3 separate regions of the Homo sapiens genome follow, and regions 1 and 3 are each linked to region 2. The links are contacts of gene promoters, found by promoter capture Hi-C in blood cells and fetal thymus (Javierre and others, 2016). All regions are on one chromosome and are shown on one strand. Each heading gives the region's core, a stretch centred on a gene start or on the middle of the fragment in contact. The rest is flanking DNA. Distances are from core to core; before and after follow the strand shown. Region 1 overlaps CCDC140 (CCDC140 long non-coding RNA). Region 2 holds the start of ACSL3 (acyl-CoA synthetase long chain family member 3). Region 3 overlaps AP1S3 (adaptor related protein complex 1 subunit sigma 3).

Region 1 (4,061 bases), core at 714-3,213, 560 kb after region 2:
AGGCCTCCTGCTTTGGTTGTGGTGAGGAGAGTTTCTCCCCTCTTCTCTCCCCCGCGTTTTACCTCCATTCTTCCCTCCTTTTATTATTTTTTAAAATTTCTTTCCTTCTTTCTCTCTTTTCTTCTCTTTCTCTCTTTCTTCTTTTTCATCTCCTCCGCCTCTTCCCCAATTTTGAAAGAGTGAGGGGTCGGGAGAGTACGTGTCCTAGGGCGGGCAGCCCTCCCGGGGTCTGTGGACTGTGCGCTCTCAGGAGACGCCCGGGTGGAGTTGGATATCTCCGAGAGGCAGGTGCGCGCAGCACTCTTCAAAACGCCTCTCTGCAGTCCCAGGTCCGCGCTCCCCAAGAACTGGCCAGATCGCGCCGGGCTTGGCCCCTGACAACTCTGCCTCCTCCACCTGTTGCGTTTACTCCGTTTAGTTGGCTGTGCAGTCTCTGGCCCCAGGTGTGCTTTTAAAACTCGAGGAACGCGGGTGTTGGACTCATTCGCAGCCTCTTGCCTCTGGTTCCCGTGATCCCACGGTGGCGAGCTTCCAGGCTCAGCGAGGAGATCTGGGTTTGAACATTCATCTCCCATGTTACTCTTTTCTTGCTCCTCGCGTCACTGGCCCCTCTTTCCTGCCGCTGAAATCCATCTCGAGGAGAAATTTTCTGAGACCCAGTTTGAGAAGCGGCTGAGGCTCACTGCGCTGGTTCAGGAGCTGGGGCCGCGTGGAGTCAGAAGGAGTCCAGTCCTGATCCGAGCGAAAGAAAGACCTGTTAGTTCCCCCTTCCCAGTACCCTCCTCCCCCAAGAGCAGGACACACAGCCCCAGCTCTTTATGTACCGGCGCCCGGAGGCAGGAGTTCCTGGAGTGGTCACTCGCCTACTTTTTTGCTCCACGAGTCAAGGAAACCAACGGACCCCAAGGTTTCTTTTATTCACTTCCTCCAGCTCTGTTCCCGCCCCCACCTCACTCACAGCCTTCACCTGCCTCCGCACAGATCAGATTTTCTGGTCTTTCCAAGGCCTAGGCTGCCCGCTCCCAATACAAGACGGTCCCCCAGCTAAATAAGGTCCTTCAACCCTTACCCCTTTCACACACACCAGATTCTTTCACACACACACATACACACACCCCGAATACACACACCCCGAATACACACACCCCGAATACACACACCAAAGAGCAGTTACCGAAGAATCTGTCTTCTAAACATCACCCCCACCCCACCATGAACTTTTACCTAATTGAGCAGAACATTTTTTGGAAGATTAGACAGGACTTACTTATTTTTTACAAGACATCCTATTCTTCCCGCCCTGGAGAATCGGGCGGCGGAATCCTGTCTTCCTTGTTTGCCTAAAAATAATTTTCTCAGACCCAAATGAACTAGGACACCAGCTGCTGTGAGATTTATTCTTCTCTCCCTCCCTCACTGCCTTTAAAAAAAAAAGTACCTCTCTCTTCTTTTCCTCTTTTCTTTTTCCTTTCCTATTTTCCTTCTCTCTTCCTATCTTCCCACAAACCATATGTTCCTTATTGTAAACCCGCTCACACGTTCCCTGGGGCTCCCCCAGCTGAAGGAGCAAACCCACTTCGGCTGGCCTACACCATGTTTCAATGGGATGTCCACATCCTCATCTAGTCCCTTAATCCGAACTCATCCCGACTGATTTTTCGATGGGGAGAAGAGCGGCGCCAATGCTTTTGACAAATAACTGCGGGGGGCCTAATGACTGTCACTGAGGCAGCGGCTGCGAAGGACCACGGGTTTAACCCGGGCATTCACCAATCCTGTATCATCACATCCGGACCGGAAGCTCATGATCACGAACCTGGCGTTTTGATGTCCTCCCCGTGAGCCCCCGGCAGCCTTTCTGTGGGATTGAGGGTTTCTCGGCGTTTGCCCAACTTTTACTGCATCCTGAGAATCACGCCTGGGGCCGGGCGGGTGGCCAGGAACTTCTCTGCTCGACCGTGTCAGCCTGCCAGAGCTCGGCCCTTCAGACGGGAGGAAAAAGGTCTGGGTGGCAGACACCACCCCCGCTCCCCACTAGGTCAGGGACATTATTTTGCATAGATCATAATTTCCTCTTAAGACCTGTGTCTGGCTGAGTATGAAGTCAACCCTCAGAGGCCCTGAGAAGTCCACGGGCCATGAAACCCTTGTGCCAGTGTCCCCAAGTGCGGAGGCTGTTCGCTAAAGGGTGCTTCACAGCCCAGGCCGGTCACCAAAGTGCGACTGGGCTGTAGACGCACGCATCCAAACGGGCTGCGAGGGAGAACTTTCAAGCTAACAAGGGCACGCTCCACTCAGGCCTGGACAGCCAGCCCGCTGTTATTTTCACCTGTAGTGTCTCTGAAACTGGGGGCAGAGGCGCAGAGGGGACAATAGAAGCTATCTCCCCCGCCCACCTTTTTTTTTTTTTTGTCAAATTATCCAAATATCGTCTTCAAGGCTCCCGTTTCATTTCGAACGTGCACAGAGCGTGAGTGGACCCTACACTCGTTCACAACACCGTTGTGGAGAGTCCCACTGATGCTTTCTGGGTAATTTGTTAGCCCAGGTAAAAGTCACTGCCTCCCAAACCAGGGTTCAAGGATGCAGGGCGCGGGCCCTCGCCTTCCAAGCCCCACCGCTGGGTCATCCCTTTACCAATTAGCGCCTGTACCGCGGCCAAATTTGGCACCAGGACTCCTTGGCCCACCGGCTGCGGATAGGGAAGTGGCCTGGACTCCCATCCAGCTGCGGGGTTTGGGTGTGGGGTGGCTTGGGCTCCGGAGAGACTTCAGAAAGAAATAAAGGGGAGGCCCAAGACTCGGAGACAGAGAAAGAGTGGCTGGAATCACCCGGCATTCCTGAGACCTGTTGCGCCCTGTTCTGCGGAGTCACGGCTCTGAGCCGGGTTAGGTTTGGCGGCGTGCGGGCGCCCTAGGCCAGGCAGCCTCAGCCAACTTTGCTGTCCTGGCCATCCCAGGTCGGACTTCGGGGACACAGGCCACAAGAAATTTAGATTCATTAAGTCTTTGGATGTGGCCCAGCTGTCCAGAGCCTAAGGGTGCCCTCCCACCCCTCTCCGGGTGTCCAGGGACCTCTGGCCACTGGCCGGTGAGAAGGGCCGGGCTGATCATCTGGGTACATATGAATCTCAGAGCGCTCGGCAGAAAAGAAAGAGGCCGGAAAGGAGAGAAAATGAGTCGCCTCCTGATTCCGGAGCTTTAGGTCCCCAGCACCCCCACATCCTTGTGGCCTCCATTTGTACATGTTTATAGCAAGTGACAGCTAGTTTATGAACCCATGGGCACTTAAGACCCAGCTCAGCCGGCAGTACCTCCGTTCAACGGTCCCGCGGACTCTGCAATCTACGGGACCGGGAGAAGGAATCTTGCAGCAAGCGCTTCCCTCCAGCATCTGCCGGCTCTTAGGAGAGAAAACTCCCGGCAGGAGAGAGACGGGTGGACGCTGGGAGGGCTTGGAGACCAAGCCTCCGGCTCAAAAACAAATGAGACTCAGCTCTAGATGTTCTTTAACTGCTCGCGGGGTCCAAGAGTTTATTTTAGCTGAGAGTTGAGCCTACTTTTGCCTTCTTGAAATTACACTTCTGGTACCTCCTTCACACAGCAATTACCGCTGACCCCAGAAAGTGCTCTGTCGACTCTGCTTAACCTTTGGGAAGAAGAAAACTTGGAAAAAGTCTAGCTCTCAAAATGCTATCGCTGAGAAGTGGCTTAAAACGTACGGACACAGGCTTTGGTGGCCCCAACGCCTTAAAAAGAAAATGAGAAAATTTTCCCCTTGAAAAATTGAATCATTTAATGTAAAACCAGGTTAAACAAGGCACATGCCTCCTTCATGGGTCCAGACATTTCTGGGAGTCTCCTGAGACCTGTCTCCGTGGCTCTGAGGGTCAACCAAGCCTTCTGGCATCAGGCAGGCTGAAAGCTTGCCTGGTTTCCCCAATGGTGAGTGGGTTTTTAAAGGGCCAACTTGTGGACTGCTGAGCGGCTATACCCCACACCCCCCTACATCTTGCCTTCTGAGTTTGCCTTAATTAGGGAATGGGGAAGTAGGGTTGGGGG
Region 2 (3,586 bases), core at 904-3,403:
AACCACCTATCCGTTTGTATGACCATTTGCTTCTTGTCTATTTTTCCCTCTATTCACAGCTGTATTCCCAGCACCTAATAAGGTGCCTGACATATCACAAAAATTAAATGGCTCTAGGTGAGTCAATTAATCAAATGAGGAATGAAACAGTCACTTAACTGGAACCAAACAGCAGGGAAACACAAAAGCAAATGAAACAGACCTCGAGGCTTTAAGATCTGATTCTCACCCCAAACCAGACAGAGGATGATTTTCCCCTTATAATTTGTGCGTTCTTCATTTCTCCCATTCTTCCTTTCTTCCTTCAAGGAGAACATTTTAGACCCTCAGAATATTTAAGCTTTAAGTCACTGAGTCTAAAGCCTTACAAATTCAGTAACTGAGATCCAAAGATACGAGGTGACTTGTCACCTTGACCCTTAGGTCCAATGGACCACTCTGCCCCACACCCAATGTCATCCTACAAAACCAATATTTTTATACAAAAGAGAAACCAGGAAAAGTCTAGAGAGAAAACGCATGCGACAATTAGAAGGCTTACTCATCCCCAAGTGTGAGGAACTGCCCAGAAAAATGCCAGAAAACAAAATCAAGTCTGTGCAAAAGATTCCCATGTCACACCACCTGTCCCCTATAATACCCTTCTAATACACTTTCAGGAGCAACTCATCAGCACCCTTAACTCTCAGAACTAATTTGGGGAAACAAAATAGGTTGATAAACATGAAAGAAGGTATCATCAAACTACAACTCTCCTGGCCACCCAGACTAAAATCCACTGTGGAAACTATTCAGCCAGCCACCAAGGAGAGGCAGCAAAATATAGTGCTTAGATTTCAGAGCTCTGGATTTACACAGGCCTGTCTGAATCCCAGCTTCTTACTAGCTGAGATCTGAGGCAAGCTAAGTCGTCCAATCTGCAGTTTCTCCCGCTGTAAAATGGGAATAACCCCCACCCCAGAGGACTGTTAACAGTGTGAAGACACTGTACATAAAGCTCTCCAAACAGTGCGTGGCATGTAATAAAAGCTCAATAAATGTCAGCTATTTGTCATTCTTTTCAGCTATAATTTCGTTCACAAAGCCTACTGCCTTTCTAGCTTCCATATAATTTTAAAGACATTCCTCCAGCCTTTTCATTTTCGAGGGATCTTTTATACAGCAGCTTAGAGCACACTTTCTAGTATCAGACTTCCTGCGAAAACCATTTGAAAACCTGTGCCTCGGGCTCCTCATCTGTGAAACGAGCCTGATAACACCTACCCCACAGGACTGCTGGTAGTAAGCAGTCCCCGAGTTACCCAACCTATCAACAGTATATGATTAAAACGCACTTGGGGAAAAGCAAAGCTGCAACTCTCAAACCCCAAACGACAGTCTTAATCCCAGTCCCACCACCACGATAGTGCCCAGAACCAATCACCAAGGTCGACCCACCTCACGCACCTAGTTTCTTCTCACCCCACGCAGCAACAGCCCCTCCCGCCCCGCCAAACAAGGGTTTTCCGAAATCGCAGGGCTGAGTCTCCTTCCACGGACACCGCACTGCTGGGGCCGCGGCAGAGCCCTCTTAATTCAAGGGGGTGGCCTCCCCACCCCGCCCCACAGCGCCGGGAGGCACGCAGTGCATCCTCCCTGCCTGGTCAGCGCCGCCCCACGCCGTTCGCGCTGCAGCTCCCGGCTCGCGTGGGCTCAGGGCCGAGGCCCCACGTCAGCCGCTTCCCGGACCCCAGCGGGCCGCCTCCCACCCTGCTCGCCGCTGCTCCTGGTGCCGCGGGCCGCCCGCGCGCACACCCAGCGGTCAGGTGCGGCGCCGACGACAGGGTCCCAGGCCCCGAGGCTGGGGAGCCCCTCGGGCCCAGCCGAACCGCACGCGGAGGCCGCGCCGCCAACCGGCTCCCGCCGCTCCCACAACCGGCGCCGCACTCACCGCTACGCCGGAGTCCGGGTTCCTCCGGCCTCGGGCCCGCGCAGGCCTGGCTGAGCCCCAGAGCGTTCACGCCCCGCGCCGCCGCCCGGGGATCCTGGCGCAGCTGTCGGGGCCGCAATGCGAGGGGACGAACGTATGCGACCCCGTCCAACGCCTCCTCGTCCCGGCCCCGGCCGCGTAGACAACTGCAGTGTCGCAGCCCGGCGCAGCCACAGCAGCGTCTGTTGAGCGGAACCGCCTGGGACGCTCACCCCCGGCCGGCACTCGTTGCCTATGCAGAGAGGCTGCCACCCATTGGCCCGCGAGCGGTGGCGCGTGCGGGGCTGGGCCTATCGAATTCGGGCCGGGGAGCGCGGCGCTGGCGGCCCGGGGCGGGGCGAGGTTACTACGGGTCATTCCGCGGAGCCGCCGCGGACCGGACCTGGCTGCAGTCTGCGCGGGGCGGGGGCGGGAACGGGGTCGACCAGGAGGGACGGACCGCGGGTGGGGGAGGGGAGCGGGGATCTGCGGCAGCGACGTGGGAGGAGCGGCTAGCCCAATAGGGTCTGCAGGAGCTCCGTCCCTCCAGGAAAAAACACCCCTCCACCAAAAAAAAAAAAAAAAAAATTACAGTCGCACAATTATTGCTGTAATGTATAAATTTCAATATAAATTATGAAATAGTATGCATATTCTTTTTCGTTTTTAACTGGATTAGTTATCCCGTTCTTGCAGAAATTGCTGTCAAATCCTGCCAAATAAAATGGCTTTTGGAACTGCCTGGGGCAAGAAGAGCCTCAAAAACTCAAAGCTTATCCATTATCATTTCTCTTGTTTTGGCCTCACTTGACCTAGCATATAACCCGTTTTCCTCTAAATGCACTCACCATGCAAATTTGCTATTTCTTTTCAAAAAATAAAGTTTACTCCAAATTATTGTTTTTGAACGTTCTTAGGAATCCACAGTGGTTCTGTATTTTAAGGAGTTTGCCATTGTTTCTCGTTTTAGACACTAAACAAGGATAAGAAAGAAAGCATCCAGTGCAGGTAGTAGAACTACATGTACTGTAAGAGAGAAGATTTTCACTCACCCAGTACTAGTAGGATTGGTCTCTTTTTTTAACCCAACATATTGTTTAGTTTGCCTGTGAACTTTTCCTTAAGTAGGTGAAAGGTTGCCTTCCTGAGCCAGCCTCAGGCTAAAGCAGGCCTCATTTCCCAAGAGAATCAAAATCAGGAAGCCGCCAGAACTTGAACTAGGTGGAGCGATGATGCACCAAGCAAAGAGAGCTCACTCACCGTGGGCCAAGGGCCAATCGAGAACCTAAAGGGATGGATACCTGACTCAGGCAAACTGTTCTCCCACTTCAAAATATGGCAGTTCAGTTGCTCATTAATCTGTTGAAATCTTATCAAAGGATACATCCTGAAGATAAATGGAATGCAGAATTTCTTATCTGAAAAGACATTCGCAGCTCTGCAGAGAGAAGCAGGCTTTAGAAGTAGTACTTCTAGAACCATGAAATCCTCTGGAAAATACTGGTTTTTTTCCGAGAGAAGAAAACTAATATTGCACCTTTTTATCTATCCATAAGCCTAAAACAGACTAGAAGAATTCCAACAATATCTTTCTTCATTATCTTTATATTATGGAATATATATTATGGATATGGACCT
Region 3 (3,634 bases), core at 714-3,213, 970 kb before region 2:
AGGTGAGGCGGGTTTTTATAGGCCAAAATAAGGAGTTTGGTTTTGGTTCCAACTGAGTAGGGGAAACCTCGGGGACGTTTTAGCAAGAAAACTGACCTTACCCGTTGTGCACTTTTGTTTTTTTGAGACTGATCTCGCTCTGTCGCCCAGGCTGAAGTGCAGTGGTGTGGTCTCGGCTCTGCCTCCCGGGTTCAAGCGATTCTCCTGCCTCAGCCTCCCGAGTAACGGGGATTACAGGCGTGTGCCACCACACCCAGCTAATTTTTGTATTTTTAGTAGAGACGGGGTTTCACCATGTTGGCCAGGCTGGTCTCGAACTCCTGACCTCAGGTGATCCGCCTGCCTCGGCCTCCCAAAGTGTAGGGATTACAGGGGTGAGCCACTGCACCCGGCATGGTGTGCAGTTTGGCTGTGGTTGGAGAATGGACTGGGGTGTGTAAGGGCAGGGGATAGGGGGTCAGGTTGGAAGCTGAGGCCGGCCGCAGCCCTGCTGATGAGAGATCTGGTGACCTGCACTTGGGTGGAAGCGATAGCTCAGGCTCCTCTTGCTCTTGCCTGCTGTTTAGGGGCAGCCTTTTAAGAGTGTGGTGGTCTGAACGTCACTAGTCCCACTTCCCCAAGTGTGTTACCACTTCCCAAATCCGCAGAAGGGAAGTGACCTGCACCCTGTGGGCCCACCGGAGGCAGGAGTGGGTGGGCCACGTGGGCTAAGAAAGTTGATCAACAAAGAGAGCCGGGGAGTGCTGAGCACCTGGCCAGCAAGACCGCAGTTGCTGGTTTCTGTTAAAGGTTTGGCTGCACACACTAGCGGCATCATTTTTGTCTGTTGAGGGTTCCTTGTAAATACAGCGTGATGCAAAAACAATGCTGTAAATAATGGAGCAGGTTTCTTGGCTTGCTCAAGTTTCCCAAGGAACAAGGTGACAGATGCCCAGTCCACCAGTGTAATTTGCCTAACAGAGGCTGGAATAAGGCCCTGCGTTTCTGAGTCATCAAAGGCTGCTTTTGTGCTGAGGAATGGGCCAAGGTTTGGTCTATAAGGAAAAGCTGCTCCTCTGGACAATACCTGTGGTGGAGTTTTATTTTTTCTTGCTGGTGTCATATGTGTGATGAGTTGATCAGAAATGTGGGAAGTTTCTCCAGCTTTTCTACCAGTTTTTGCTAAATGGGAAACATTATTATTATTTTTTTTTCTTCGAGACGGAATCTTGCTCTGTCACCCAGGCTGAAGTGCAGTGGCATGATCTTGGCTCACTGCAACCTCCATCTCCCGAGTTCAAGCAATTCTCCTGCCTCAGCCTCCTAAGTAGCTGGGATTACAGGCGCCCGCCACCACGCCTAGCTAATTTTTGTATTTTTAGTAGAGACGGGGTTTTGCCATGTTGGCCAGGCTGGTCTCAAACTCCTGACCTCGTGATCCACCTGCATCGGCCTCCCAAAGTGCTGGCATTACAGGCATGAGCCACCGCACCTGGCGGGGAAACATTAATGTTATTGGGCATTTGTGATAAGACAAGCAGGATGTCCTGCTCTTTATATTCACGATCTCATTCAATCCTTGCAACAAACAATTGAGGTTAAATCTGTTATGCTCATTGCATTTTAGCTACTCTGAGCTATTCTAGCAGTATGGCCTTGGACAATTCCTTGACCTCTCTGTCTCAGTTTGCCCATTTGAAAAATGGAGATAATATCTCCTAACTCATAAGGCAGAGGTTCTGAAAGTGTGACCTGGGTACCCCCAGCAGTCCCCAAGACTTTTACTGGAGGTCTGCAAGGTCAAAACTATTTTCATAATAATACTAAGATATTAATTTTCCCATTTCATTCTCATTCTCACAAGACTACAGTGAAGTTTTCTTGTGTCTACATAAGCTGAGATAGTACAACAGATTGAACACAGATGCAGATAGGAAAGTCCAACTGTCTTTGATAAGCCCAGACATTAAGGAGATTTGCAAAATTGTAAAACAGTGCCATGCTTTTCACTAATTTTTTTTTTGCTTTGGAAAAATATTGTTATTGGTCATAAAAATGTTATTTATGTTTAATGTGTAATAGGTTTACTATTGTTTTTTCTTTTTATTTATTTATTTTTGAGACAGGGTCTCTGTGTCGCCCAAGCTGAGTGCAGTGGTGTGATCACAGCTCACAGCAGCCTCAACCTCCTAGGCTCCAGCAACCCTCCTACCTCAGCTTCTTGAGTAGCTGGGACTGTAGGCATGTCCCACCATGCCCAGCTATTTATTTATTTATTTATTTTGAGACAAGGCTTGTTCTATCACCCAGAGTAGAGTGCAGTAGCATGAACATGGCTTACTGCAGCCTCAACCCAGTGGACTCAAGGCATCCTCCTACCTCAGCCTTCCATGTAGCTGGGACCACAGGTGTGTGCCATCATGCCCAGGTAATTTTTTGATTTTTGTATAAATGAGGTCTTACTTTGTTGCCTAGGCTGGTCTTGAACTCCTGAACTCATGTAATATTCCCACCTTGTCCTCCCAAAGTGCTGAGATTATAGGCATGAACAATTGGGCCCAGTGGAATTTTTTACTTTTTGTAGAAATGAAGCCTACCTATGTTGCCCAAGTCGTATTATTTTAAAATATGTTAATATCTATTTTTTCATTTTAATTTCAAATACAATAAATATCAGTGGATATAACCCACATAAACAAAAAGGTCTTTGGGATTGGCAGGCGGATCACCTGAAGTCAGGAATTTGAGACCAGCCTGATCAACATGGAGAAACACTGTCTCTACTAAAAATACAAAATTAGCTGGGTGTGGTGGCGCATGCCTATAATCCCAGCTACTTGGGAGGCTGAGGCAGGAGAATCGCTTGAACCCGTGAGGTGGAGGTTGTGGTGAGCCAAGATCGTGCCATTGCACTCCAGCCTGGGCAACAAGAACAAAACTCCATCTCAAATAAATAAATAAATAAATAAATAAATAAATAAATAAATAAAAAGAGTGTAAAGGCATCCAAAAAGTTTCATAATCACTGTCCCGGAGTTTAACAGGTACCATAAGTGAATGCGTGTGAAGGCGCTTCAAACAGCTTTGCCATTGTAAATGCTCAGTAACCATCACCTCTCCTCTGTTATTACCTTCAAGTTGTAAGAAAGAATTGGCGGCCCTCGCTAGTGCCCAGCTGCTCTGAGACCTTTGTTGAGGCTCACTGTGTAACTCCCTGTCTTTCCTGCTGCTTCATTCCTGACTTTTGCTGACTTTTATGCTAGGAAACTGGTAGATGCTTACTGGCAGATCTAGGCACCTAGTACTTTACACACAGAAAATGGTTCTTGATTCCATGGTGCCAGTGACCCTGGTTTCTGGCACAGAGATTTCATATCTGGTGCATGTTGGGACTGTGTTTGTATCTGGATCACACTGTTTGAAGCAACTGTGTACTCCATCTCACCTTTTAGAAATCTCTACCTTGGAAAACAGTGTTAGGGCTATTGCACTTCAGGAATCCCACGAGCTGAGCCCAGTGTGTTTAAAAAGGCTTATGGGGCAGAATGTACTGTTGAATGGTTGGCAATGAAGGAGGATTATGTTGTTTATGTATGTATGTATGTATGTATGTATGTATGTATGTATGTATTTTGCCTTTAACAAGATAGCTGTG

The links. Contacts are between HindIII fragments. The CHiCAGO score rates a contact against its expected background, and 5 or more counts as called.
Region 1: a fragment that was not itself captured here is called in contact with the fragment with the promoter of ACSL3 in region 2 in 1 of 17 cell types (monocytes); the score reaches 5.4 in monocytes.
Region 3: a contact is called between a fragment that was not itself captured here and the fragment with the promoter of ACSL3 in region 2, in 1 of 17 cell types (monocytes). The highest score is 6.8, in monocytes.

Annotation. Positions count from the first base shown.
Region 1 is chr2:222,300,417-222,304,477 of GRCh38, reverse strand. CCDC140 (CCDC140 long non-coding RNA) reads right to left here. Exons shown (of 2, transcript NR_161172.1): 2 at 1-732. Among named protein-coding and RNA genes, the nearest start is that of PAX3, 3.4 kb to the right of the region's middle. The HindIII fragment of the contact is 3,927 bases long and covers 1-3,926 here.
Region 2 is chr2:222,859,603-222,863,188 of GRCh38, reverse strand. ACSL3 (acyl-CoA synthetase long chain family member 3) reads right to left here and starts at 2,153. Exons shown (of 17, transcript NM_004457.5): 1 at 1,931-2,153. RefSeq lists silencers at 1,658-2,027, 2,098-2,427 and an enhancer at 2,144-2,438. The HindIII fragment of the contact is 2,380 bases long and covers 343-2,722 here.
Region 3 is chr2:223,833,218-223,836,851 of GRCh38, reverse strand. The region is part of intron 1 of AP1S3 (adaptor related protein complex 1 subunit sigma 3); the gene reads left to right. Among named protein-coding and RNA genes, the nearest start is that of AP1S3, 2.5 kb to the left of the region's middle. The HindIII fragment of the contact is 4,436 bases long and covers 1-3,634 here.